Regions from separate parts of the Homo sapiens genome. Here region 1 is linked to region 2. Evidence: promoter capture Hi-C in 16 types of primary human blood cells and fetal thymus (Javierre and others, 2016). All regions are on one chromosome and are shown on one strand. The core of a region is centred on a gene start or on the middle of the fragment in contact, and the rest is flanking DNA. Distances in the headings are between cores, read along the strand shown. Region 1 overlaps SOS2 (SOS Ras/Rho guanine nucleotide exchange factor 2). Region 2 holds the start of KLHDC1 (kelch domain containing 1).

Region 1 (5,394 bases), core at 1,321-3,820, 440 kb after region 2:
AGTTTTGATAATCAGAAAAAAAGTGGAGATAAATTAGATTAAGGTCTGTTAATCCAATTTATAGATCATTCTTGATCATTTATAATTACTCTGGAAATTCCTTTTACTTTAAAAGTAGTCATTTAAATTACTTTAAAAGTAATGTCAAGAATGATTATAGGCCGAGCACGGTGGCTCACGCCTGTAATCCCACCACTTTGGGAGGCTGAGGTGGGTGGATCACCTGAGGTCGGGAGTTTGAGACCAGCCTGACCAACATGAAGAAACCCCATCTCTACTAAAAATACAAAATTAGCTGGGCGTGGTGGCGCATGCCTGTAATCCCAGCTACTCAGGAGGCTGAGACAGGAGAATCAATTGAACCTGGCAGGCGGAGGTTGAGGTGAACCGAGATCACACCATTGCACTCCAGCCTGGGCAACAAGAGCGAGACTGTCTCAAAAAAAAAAAAAAAAAAAAAGAAAGAAAGAAAGAAAGAAAGAAAGAATGATTATAAAGTTAAACCTATCTGTGCTAACTTCTAGTATAAAAAATGTTTTTATCTGAGCCAAGCCATGATGGCTCACACCTGTAATCCTAGCAGTTTGGGAGGCTGAGGCCGGGGGACTGCTTAAGCCCAGGAATTTGACACCAGCCAGGGCAATATGGTGAGACCTCTCCTCTTAAAAAAAGCCTAATAAATAAAATGTTTAAAATTTTTGTCTTTATCAAAAAATATTTTAAGCTTAAATTTAAGTTTTAACGTAGAAAATTCAGGTGATTTAGCACTGCCAAAAAAAGAGAAAAAAAGAAAAAGAAACAGTAATCTTACAAACCAGAAATATCATTGTTTACATTTAAATATTAGACTATCTTCCAATGATTTTACTGTGCATGTAAATATATGCATGTATATATGTATTTATATATAATTATTAATAATTTATATATATATTTTCCTGAAAAACTGGGATATCAATTTTAATCTTTCTGAAGTTTATATTCAATTAACTTTTTTCAATGTGGTTTGCTTTTTTTTTTTTTTTTTTTTTTGAGATGGAGTCTCACTCAGCCTTCCAAAGTGCTGGGATTACAGGTATGAGCCACCTCACCCAGCCAGTTTGCTTATTTTACAAAATACAAATTTTAACTCTATAGTATTTCATCAGATGGATATTTCAGAATGTAATAATCTCCATATAGCTAGTTATCCATATAGGTACTTTCTAATTTTTTGCTATTATAATAATTATTTTTATTAACTCCTATATATAAATTTTTCTGTACATTTTTTATGATTTCCTTAGAAAAATTCCTTAGCAGCAAATTACTGGATTTAGCTTTATTTAATTTTGAAGTGGTTTAGAAGCATATATAAAAATGGTACTAGGTTTTAGCTTTAGCAGTAGGCAAAATGAGCTTTAAAATTTCTAGTATAAAATTCTTCCCATTTTTAAGGCATTCTGCCAATTTCAAGAAAATTGTATTACTCTTTTAACAATACTGAAACAATGTGTTCTTATGTTCAGGTTAGCTAAATTAAATATTAGCCACTAGTAATTAAAGGCTTTCAGAAAGCTATAACAGCAGTATTCTTGATTTCCTCATCCTTTGCTCTATTTTAAATACTATTTATTTAAGTATGATTTGAAAAGTGAATAGCTACTTTGTCTACATTTTAAATTTATTTTGTTTGACTCAATCATATAGAAGACACTTCCTCCCAAAAATGCTTTAAATGGTGGTAGGAACCCTAGACCACACCACAAACACCAATTAGCAGGTATGGTTCTGAGATATAAATACTAAAAGTACTATTTCAAGCATACCGAATTAAAGTGTAACATTATTCCTGTGGGGACCATATTTCCTTAGCTCTCCGAAGCCCCACATCACAGAGGGCGGGTTCAATGGTGAGAGGGGATGAAATAGGTCACCATCAGTAGGTTACCACCTTTATTTTTTTTAAGAGCAAGTATCTTTTTTTTTTTTTTTTGAGATGCAGTCTCGCTCTGTCACCTAGGCTAGAGTGCAGTGGCTCTATCTCAGTTCTCTGCAACATTTGCCTTCTGGGTCCAAGCGATCCTCCCACCTCAGCCTCCTGAGTAGCTGGGATTACAAGCACGTGCCACCACACCCAGCGAATTTTTGTATTTTTAGTGGAGACAGAGTTTCACCACGTTGGCCAGGCTGGTCTTGAACTCCTGACCTCAGGTGATCCACCCACCTCAGCCTCTCAAAGTGCTGGATTTACAGGCATTAGCCACTGTGCCCGACCTATCATTTTTATAAATGGTATGCTTTAGGTGGTCTTTTTCTTAGGACTTTAGGGTACTTTGTTTTGAACCGGGAACAAAGAAGTTTCTATCTCATAATTTAGGAGGGTGGAAGTAATGGTGGATATTTTCACTCAATATGCCCAATTTGCATGCAGATTATGTCTAAAAAGTTTAGCGCAGTTTTTAATATGACACGTAAACTTATTCTGGTTGATAGTTATAATATGTTCCCAAGTTCAAGTATAATATAATAACATTCATTTAGCATAAACATAATATCATAGTTTAATTTAGAAGGTTGTTTCATATTTTATAGTACTATAGTATCAATATTACACACTATTGCTCAAAATAGAACATCAATCGACAGGATGTTAGAAAAATCATCTTCTGCCAGGCATACATATACCACTTTGCTGACCCTTTTCCTATTTAAACACACTGTTCTTATGAATTATATAACGTTATTTTGCTACATGTAACATTATCTAAAATGGCTATCAAATCTAGAAATGAATTTTCTTTTTACTGCATGGACATCATTCTACTTTGTCATTCACTTTTTATGGTGTAGCTTGAACCAACTACACAAAGAAGCAATACTTTCAAAAGAAAGTACTTAGTAACAATATTAACAACTGCAGATAGTGTAGAATGTCTAATGTTTAACATGCTATCTACTGATTAATTTTTTTCTATTATTTTCATAGCAAGACAAATAATTATGATATTTCTTACAGGTCACACAAGATCTAAAATTTTTTTTTAATTTTTAAAATTTTTAATTTTCATGGGTACATAATAGGTGTATATATTTGTAGGGTATAAGAGATGTTTTGATACAGGCATGTAATGTAGAATAATCCCATCATGGAGAGTGGGGTATCCATTCCCTCAAGCATTTATCCTTTGTATTATGAATAATCCAATTATACTCTTATAGTTAATATTTTTTATTTTATTTTTTGAGACGGAGTCTCCCTCTGTCACCCAGGCTGGAAGGCAGTGGCATGATCTCGGCTCACTGCAGCCTCCACCTCCTGGGTTCAAATGATTCTCCTGCTTCAGTCTCCCAAGTAGCTGGGATTACAGGCACCCGCCACCATGCCCGGCTAATTTTTTGTATTTTTAGTAGAGACAGGGTTTCACCATGTTGGTCAGGCTGGTCTCAAATTCTTGACCTCAAGTGGTCCTCCCGCCTCAGCCTCCCAAAGTGCTGTGATTACAGGCGTGAGCCACCATGCCCAGCCGATACTTATAGTTATTACTACTATTATTATTTTGAGACAGAAGTCTTACTGTGTCACCCAGGCTGGAGTGCAGTGGCGCTATCTCGGCTCACTGCAACCTACCCCTCCTAGGCTCAAGTGATTCTCCCACCTCAGACTCCTGAGTAGCTGGGACTGCAGGCACCCAGCACCATGCCCAGCTAATTTTTTTTTATATTTTTAGTAGAGACGGGGTTTCGCCATGCTGCCCAGGCTGGTCTCCAACTCCTGATCTCAAGCGATCCGCCCGCCTTGGCCTCCCAAAGTGCTGGGATTACAGGCGTGAGCCACAGTGCCTGGCCTCTTACAGTTACTTTTAAATCTGCAATTAAATTATTATGGACTGTAGTCACCCTGTTGTGCGATCCAATAGTATGTCTTATTCATTCTATTTTTTTTTTTTGGTACCCATTAACACGTTCTCTTCTAAAGATATGCAAAGAAAATATTTACCCTCATATCTGGTTCTATCCGTAAACAGTAAGGCTGATTCTGATACTGCTGAATTTCTCCAGTAATTTCAGCTACTTTCCTCCTCTTACTGAAATTGATTAAATCTTTCCCTTTCTTTTTTAAAAAATCATTATTCCCTTCTTCGGTCTTCAGAATATTTGTTAAATATATTCCTAGTAAAAAAAAAAAAAGAATTTAAAGAAAAGTTATTTTAAATTTTGTTATTTAATCAATTATTTGGGAAAACAACTGATCTAGTAAAGTTGAAAGACATCCTATACTATTCAGCAACTCTACTACTAAAATGTTAAGTCTCTGATAAACAATCATTAACTCTCCATTAAGCATTTTTTAAAGAGAAAGAATTTAAAATAAAAAGAAAATAAAAGCTACTGGCTTGTACAAAAATAAAGGCTGCTAATCTAAGAAATGGCAAATTAAGCTTTTCTAAACTCTAATTTCACCAAGTGCAAATTGTGTTAAATCTATTCTGACCAAATATTTTAATATTTGATTATAAATATTTAATGCCAAGTATCTTAGGTGATTATTAATAAATTAATTTTAAGCCAATTTTGGTTAATAAGTCTATAGGCTTATAAACTAATTCTGTTTTTTCAGAGACTGTAATTTAGATAGAAAAATAATTACTTCTCATTCATGAACAATAAAAAAGTTTTTAGTCCCTTTTTCATGCGTAATTGCTGATTCATTTAAATTGGTGGTTCTCAGCTGGGGACAATTTAGTCCCCCAGGGGATATTTAGGAATGTCTAGAGACATTTTTGGTTACCACAACTCCAGGGTGCTATTGGAGTGTAATGAATAGAGGCCAGGATGCTGCTACAGATCCTATTACGCACACGACAGCCCATCACAACAAAGAATTATTTGGCCCAAAATACCAAAATTGTTGAAGTTGACAAAACTTGATTTAAATCATTCAATTTCAATCATACACAACAATATTTTAATTCTAAATTTAAAAATCACATAGAAGCTTTTAATAAATTAAAGAGAAAGCAAACACTGTAGATGTGACATAGATAGTTATGATAAAAATAACAGTTACCATTTCATGAGTGCGTCCTATGTGCTAGACTTATTAGGTAGTACAGACAAAATATTTTTAATCCTTATTTATAACAACCCTATGAGATATTATAGTCTTCATTTTATAGAAAATAGAGAGTTTTATTATTTATTAATACAGAGAGCTAATAAAAGTAGATGAGCTCAGATATAAAATAAAGATAACATGCCTCTGAAGACTGCTCTCTTTTGGCTATCACACGCTCACCCTCAAAATATATCCATATTTAGTAACTTACCAAAAAAAGGCACACAAGGTGGATTGATTGACTTAAGTTTTACTAGGTATTTTTTAAAGTGATCTTGACTTAATTCCACAGCTTC
Region 2 (5,756 bases), core at 1,402-3,901:
GACCTCGTGATCCCCCCGTCTCGGCCTCCCAAAGTGCTGGGATTACAGGCGTGAGCCACCGCGCCCGGCCTATAACCTTGTTTTATGTGTGTTTTTATGTAAAGACATCTTTACATTGTGATTCGTTAACACTGAACTCAGGGCCAAGAGCCCTATAACTCATAGCTGAAGGAAGCTTATTTATCACATGTATTTTCTCCATAAGGCACTCCCACTCTCAAATAATTCAACAAAATGAAAAAGACAGACACACACATACCAACAAACATAAAGCTAGTATGGTAGTATTAATAATTATTAACCTGGAGTGGAAGATACACAGGTACTCTTTGAACTATTTTTTCAACTTTTTTTGGTTTGCTACTTTTTATATTAAGAAATTGGAGAGAAAATAATCAATTCCAGTTGCCCAGCTTTCTCTCACAATCTGACCTCACAATTCCCCTTTTCCCATAAATGTTCCCAATCATAATTCTCTTTCTCTAATAAATTTTCAACTTCTTCTATGGCTCCTTCACCTGGCCAGCTCATAAAGTCCCAATACTTAAATGAACAATTATATGCTGATGACTCCAAAATCCCTATCTCTAGCCCTTAGCTCTCTTAGACTTCAAATCCAACTCAATATGCCTCCAAATGAACTCACCATTAGCCCTGCCCTCCCCCAAACCTGTTCCTCCTCCCATGTTCAATAACCTAGCGAAGGGCTCCACCCACCTCCCACCCAGTGACCAAGCTGGTAAACTAGGCATATCCTTGACTCTTCCCTCTCACGAATGAAAGTTCCTTGAACAACTTCCGTTCATCATTCAGTTCTTAACTTAGACTTTACTTTCTCTCAGGAACCTTCCCTGTCTTCCCTCAATCTGAGTTAAAGGGCCTCTGTACACCCAAGGTGCCCTGGACTTTTGCTATTTTCACACTTACTGCACGGTATGGTAATTGTCTGTTTGCTGGTCTATAGACTCCACCAGACTCTACAGTCCAGGAGGACAAATGCTCCATTTCAAAAATACAATACCAATATTACTAGTAACAATAAAGTGATGGAGTGAGAATTATGATTGACATATAGTTTACACTAAGTAAAATGCACATATCTGTATGCAGTTCAATGCATTTTGATAAATGTATACACCCATGTAACCACCACCTCAATCAAGATACAGAACATTTTAATCACTCCAGAACACTTCCTGTACTCCTTTCCATCAGTCCCCTCCCCCTCCCTACTCCCAAATGACCACTTTTCTGCTTTCTATTATCATAGATCACTTTTGTCTATCTTGAATTTCTTCCTTCCTTCCTCCCTTCCTCCCTCCCTCCCTTCTTCCTTCCCTCCCTTCCTCCTTTTTCTTTCTTTCTCTCTCCCTTTCCCTCTCTCTCTCTTTCTCTCTTTCTTTCTAAGGAACCTTGCTCTGTCGCCCAGACCGGAGTGCAGTGGCGCGATCTCGGTTCACTGCAACCTCCACCTCCCGGGTTAAAGCGATTCTCTTGCCTTTGTAGCTGGGATTACAGGCATGCGCCACCACGCCCGGCTAATTTTTGTATTTTTAGTAGAGACGGGATTGCCCAGGTTGGCCAGGCTGGTCTCAAACTCCTGAGCTCAAGTGATCCGCCTACCTCATCCTCCCAAAGTGCTTAGATGAGAGGCGTGAGCCACTGCAATCCAGTTACATTTGTAAAGTTAAATATGCATTTATCCTCTGACCCAGCAATTCCACATCTAGAACTCTACTCCAAAGATAGGCTTGTACAAATACAAAATAACATATGCATAACGTTTCATCGCAGCATTATTTATGATAGCCAAAAAAACCTGGAAATAACCGATATGTCCATCAATAAGAATCTGTTTGAATAAGCTATGACACATCCAATCGGTGGAGTGCTATGAAGCTATGAAAAGGACTGAGGAGACTGCTTGCTGTATCCTGATATGGATCGTCAAGTGAAAAGAGAAAGTTAAGGAACACTGTATATACTTCCTTTTGTGTAAGAAAAGGAGCAGATACTCTGTTTATTTGTATAGTCAAAAATAAACAATAGAAAGTATCATTAAAGTGCACCAGACTTAAGTGCCTTCTAATGTGATGCAATATGAAGTATTTTCCAAAAAAAAATCTGAACTAGAATCTAATAAAGCTTTTAGATACAGCTTCCAGCCTAAAAGAAGTATGGGGAAAGGATGCACAAGTTAATGAGAAAAGACACTGAGGAACCAAACCCAGAAGGTGGTACGGCTGTAGGAAAATAAGAAAACTAATCCATATAACAAACAAATGGCACAAGAGAGAAGGGAGAGAAGCTATTCTAGAGTAAAACAGACGTAAAGTCTTAAGAGGCGTTAACAACGAATTACGGTGCTGAACAAACCAACTATAGAAAAGACATTTTGAGATAATCAAGGAATCTGACTACAGACTGACTACTAAATGAGGCTGTACTGCCAAAACACAATTCCAAGAGAGAAGGAATCTGCGCGTGGAAAGCCCAGGCCCCTTGCCCACTGCGAGGAGCCAGAACGTCCCTCCACAGCCGCGCCGCCCCTGGCTCGACTTCCCGAGCGAGAGCCGCGGGACGTTGCAGACGCACTGGCTCCGCCTTCCCACCAATCTCGACCCTCGCCGCGTTCCGTTCGTGCGTGGAGCAGTCGGGGCTGGAGGCGAGGCCGCCGGGCGGGCAGGGGTTGTGGCGCGGCAAGCGGCGGGCCAGCGACGGCGCGAATGGCGGACTCTCAGCTGTTCTGTGTGGCGGAGGAACGCAGCGGCCACTGCGCCGTGGTGGACGGAAACTTCCTCTACGTGTGGGGGGGCTACGTGGTAAGGGGAAGAGGCGGGACGGGGTAGACTCGCGCCGGGAGACCCTCGGCCTGAGCGGACGCAGCGCCCGCCACACCCGCTCCCGAGGCTGCGGCCCAGGCCTGGCGCGCCCGGCGCCTGCAGCCCCCCAGCCCCTCCGCTGGCCGCCGCCCCCACAGCCGCGCCAGGGCTTGACGTCGTCCCGCCGTTGCTTCTTCTATTAAAGCCTCAGACCCGGCTCCGGGCCTCTTACCACTCTCCGCCCCTCTTTGCCAGCAATTCAGTAACCACGGTTTGCCCAATGCAAAGGCAGTTACAGCGCGATTAATTATTATCCTTAAATACTGGCGCAGACCTAGAAGGACCCGAGGACGCCGTGCTGTATCATTTTGTATATATTTCCTTATTCCCACGGCGCGATTCGAAATAAAATATCGAAATCACTGAAGCATTTAAATATTTATTTTCTTTTCTTTTTCTTTTTTTTTTTTTTTTGAGATGGAGTTTCGCTCTTGTTGCCCAGGGCTGGAGTGCAATGGAACGATCTCAGCTCACCGCAACCTCCGCCCCCCGCCCCGGGTTCAAGCGATTCTCCTGCCTCAGCCTCCCTAGTAGCTGGGCTTACCGGCATGTGCCATCATGCCTGGCTAATTTTGTATTTTTAATAGAGACAGGGTTTCCCATGTTGGTCAGGCTGGTCTTGAACTCGCGACCTCAGGTGATCCGCCCGCCTTGGCTTCCCAAAATGCTGGGATTACAGGCATTAGCCACTGTGCCTGGCTTGCATTTTAAATATTTCTAAGCTATTTTTAGTGGCGTTTCTTTACTAATGACTATTTTTTCTAGTCTCAAAATAGACGCATGTTAGCAATAATATGCTAAGAAATATTATGCTTTAAAATTCTTACTACAATGGAGGTTTGAGCGTATGTGTGTGTTGTGTGTCCATAATCACAGAATTATAGAAGCAAGAATGGTAAAGCTGGAAAACAGGAATACTATATGCCAACCCTCTTAGTTTACAGATTTTTTTTCTTAAGCCATCTGGAAGTTCTACTGATAGTAGAACCTACATCTTCTGTCTCCCTACCATTATGTGACAGACCTGTAACGTGACTGAATCATATTGAAATGACCAACATACAGGCATACCTCGAAGTATTGCAGAATACTTCGTATGACTGCAATAAAGCGAGGTCATACGAATTTTTTTGGTATCTCAGTGCATATAAAAGTCATGTTTACATTGTAGTGTGTTAAGCATGCAATAGTATTATGTGTAAAAAAAAAATGTACATACCTGGCTGGGCGCGGTGGCTCACACCCGTAATCCCAGCACTTTGGGAGGCTGAGGCGGGTGGATTACCTGAAGTCAGGAGTCCGAGACCAGCCTGGCCAACATGGTGAAACCCCGTCTCTACTAAAAACACAAAAATTAGCCGGACATGGTGGCGGATGCTTGTAATCCCAGCTACTCGGGAGGCTGAGGCAGGAGAATCACTTGGACCCGGGAGGCGGAGGTTGCAGTAAGCCAAGATTGCGCCATTGCATTCCAGCCTGGGCGACAGAGCGAGACTCCGTCTCAAAACAAAAAAACAAAAAACTGTACATACCTAATTTCAAAATTATTGCTAAAAAATGCTAAGGATTATCTGAGCCTTCAGCGAGTTGTATTCTTTTTGCTCATGGAGGGTCTTCCTCTATGTAGTTGGCTACTGACTGATTAGGGTGGTTGTTGCTGAAGGTTGGAGTGGCTGTGGCAGTTTCTTAAGACAAGACAATGAAGTTTGCCACATTGAGCCTTCCTTTCACAAAATATTTCTCTGTAACATGCAATGCAGTTTTGATGTGTGTGTGTGTGTGTGTGTGTGTGTGTGTGTTTTGAGACAATCTCTCCTGCAACCTCTGCCTCCCAGGTTCAAGCGATTCTCCTGCCTCAGCCTCCTGAGTAGCTGGAATTACAGGTGTGCACCACCATGCCTGGCTAATTTTTGTATTTTTTACAGGCGTGAGCCACCGTGCCCAGCCATGAAATGTATTTTCTTAAATAATAAGACTTGAAAGTCAAAATGATTCCTTGATCCATGGGCAACAGAATGGATATTGTGTAGCAGGCATGAAAAGATAAATCTTGTAGATCTCCCATCAGAGCTCTTGGGTGACTAGGTGTGTTGTCAATGAGCAGTGAGTGAGATTTTCTGAGCAGCAGTTCTCAACAATAAACTACTCAGTAAGCCATGCTGTCAAAGAGACATGCTGTCATCCAGGCTTTCTTGTTCCGTTGTTAGAGCACAGGCAGTGTAGATTTAGCATAATTCTTAAGGGCCCTAGGATTTTCAGAATGATAAATGAACATTGGCTTCAACTTAAAGACAGCTACTACATTAGCCACTAACAAGAGAATTAGCTGGTCCTTTGAAATTGGACATTGACTTCTCTCTAGCTATGAAAGTCCTAGATGGCATCCTCTTCCAATATAAAGCTGTTTCATCCACGTTAAAAAATCTATTGTTGGCCGGGCACGTTGGCTCACGCCTGTAATCCCAGGACTTTGGGAGGCCGAGGCAGGCGGATCACAAAGTCAGGAGATCAAGACCATCCTGGCTAACATGGTGAAACCCCGTCTCTACTAAAAATACAAAAAAAATTAGCCAGGCGTGGTGGCAGGCGCCTATAGTCTCAGCTACTGGGGAGGCTGAGGCAGGAGAATGGCGAGAACCCAGGAGGCGGAGCTTGCAGTGAGCAGAGATCGCACCACTGCCCTCCAGCCTGGGCGACAGAGTGAGACTCTGTCTCAGAAAAAAAAAAAAAAAAATCTATTGTTTAGTGTAGCCACCTTCATCAGGTATCTTAGCCAGATCTTCTGGATAACTTGCTGCAGGTTCTACATGAGCACATGCTGCTTCACCTTGCACTTTTTTTTTTTTTTTGAGACAGAGTTGCCCAGGCTGTGGT

The links. The method cuts DNA at HindIII sites, captures the fragments that hold promoters and counts their contacts. A CHiCAGO score of 5 or more calls a contact.
Region 1: a contact is called between a fragment that was not itself captured here and the fragment with the promoter of KLHDC1 in region 2, in 2 of 17 cell types (activated CD4 T cells and fetal thymus). The highest score is 6.0, in activated CD4 T cells.

Annotation. Positions count from the first base shown.
Region 1 is chr14:50,134,633-50,140,026 of GRCh38, forward strand. It overlaps SOS2 (SOS Ras/Rho guanine nucleotide exchange factor 2), which reads right to left. Exons shown (of 23, transcript NM_006939.4): 17 at 5,310-5,394; 18 at 3,980-4,152. Among named protein-coding and RNA genes, the nearest start is that of VCPKMT, 21 kb to the left of the region's middle. RefSeq lists an enhancer at 4,302-5,006. The HindIII fragment of the contact is 3,697 bases long and covers 723-4,419 here.
Region 2 is chr14:49,690,469-49,696,224 of GRCh38, forward strand. KLHDC1 (kelch domain containing 1) reads left to right here and starts at 2,652. Exons shown (of 13, transcript NM_172193.3): 1 at 2,652-2,822. The coding sequence starts at 2,727. RefSeq lists silencers at 2,797-2,846, 2,857-3,026. The HindIII fragment of the contact is 4,227 bases long and covers 2,144-5,756 here.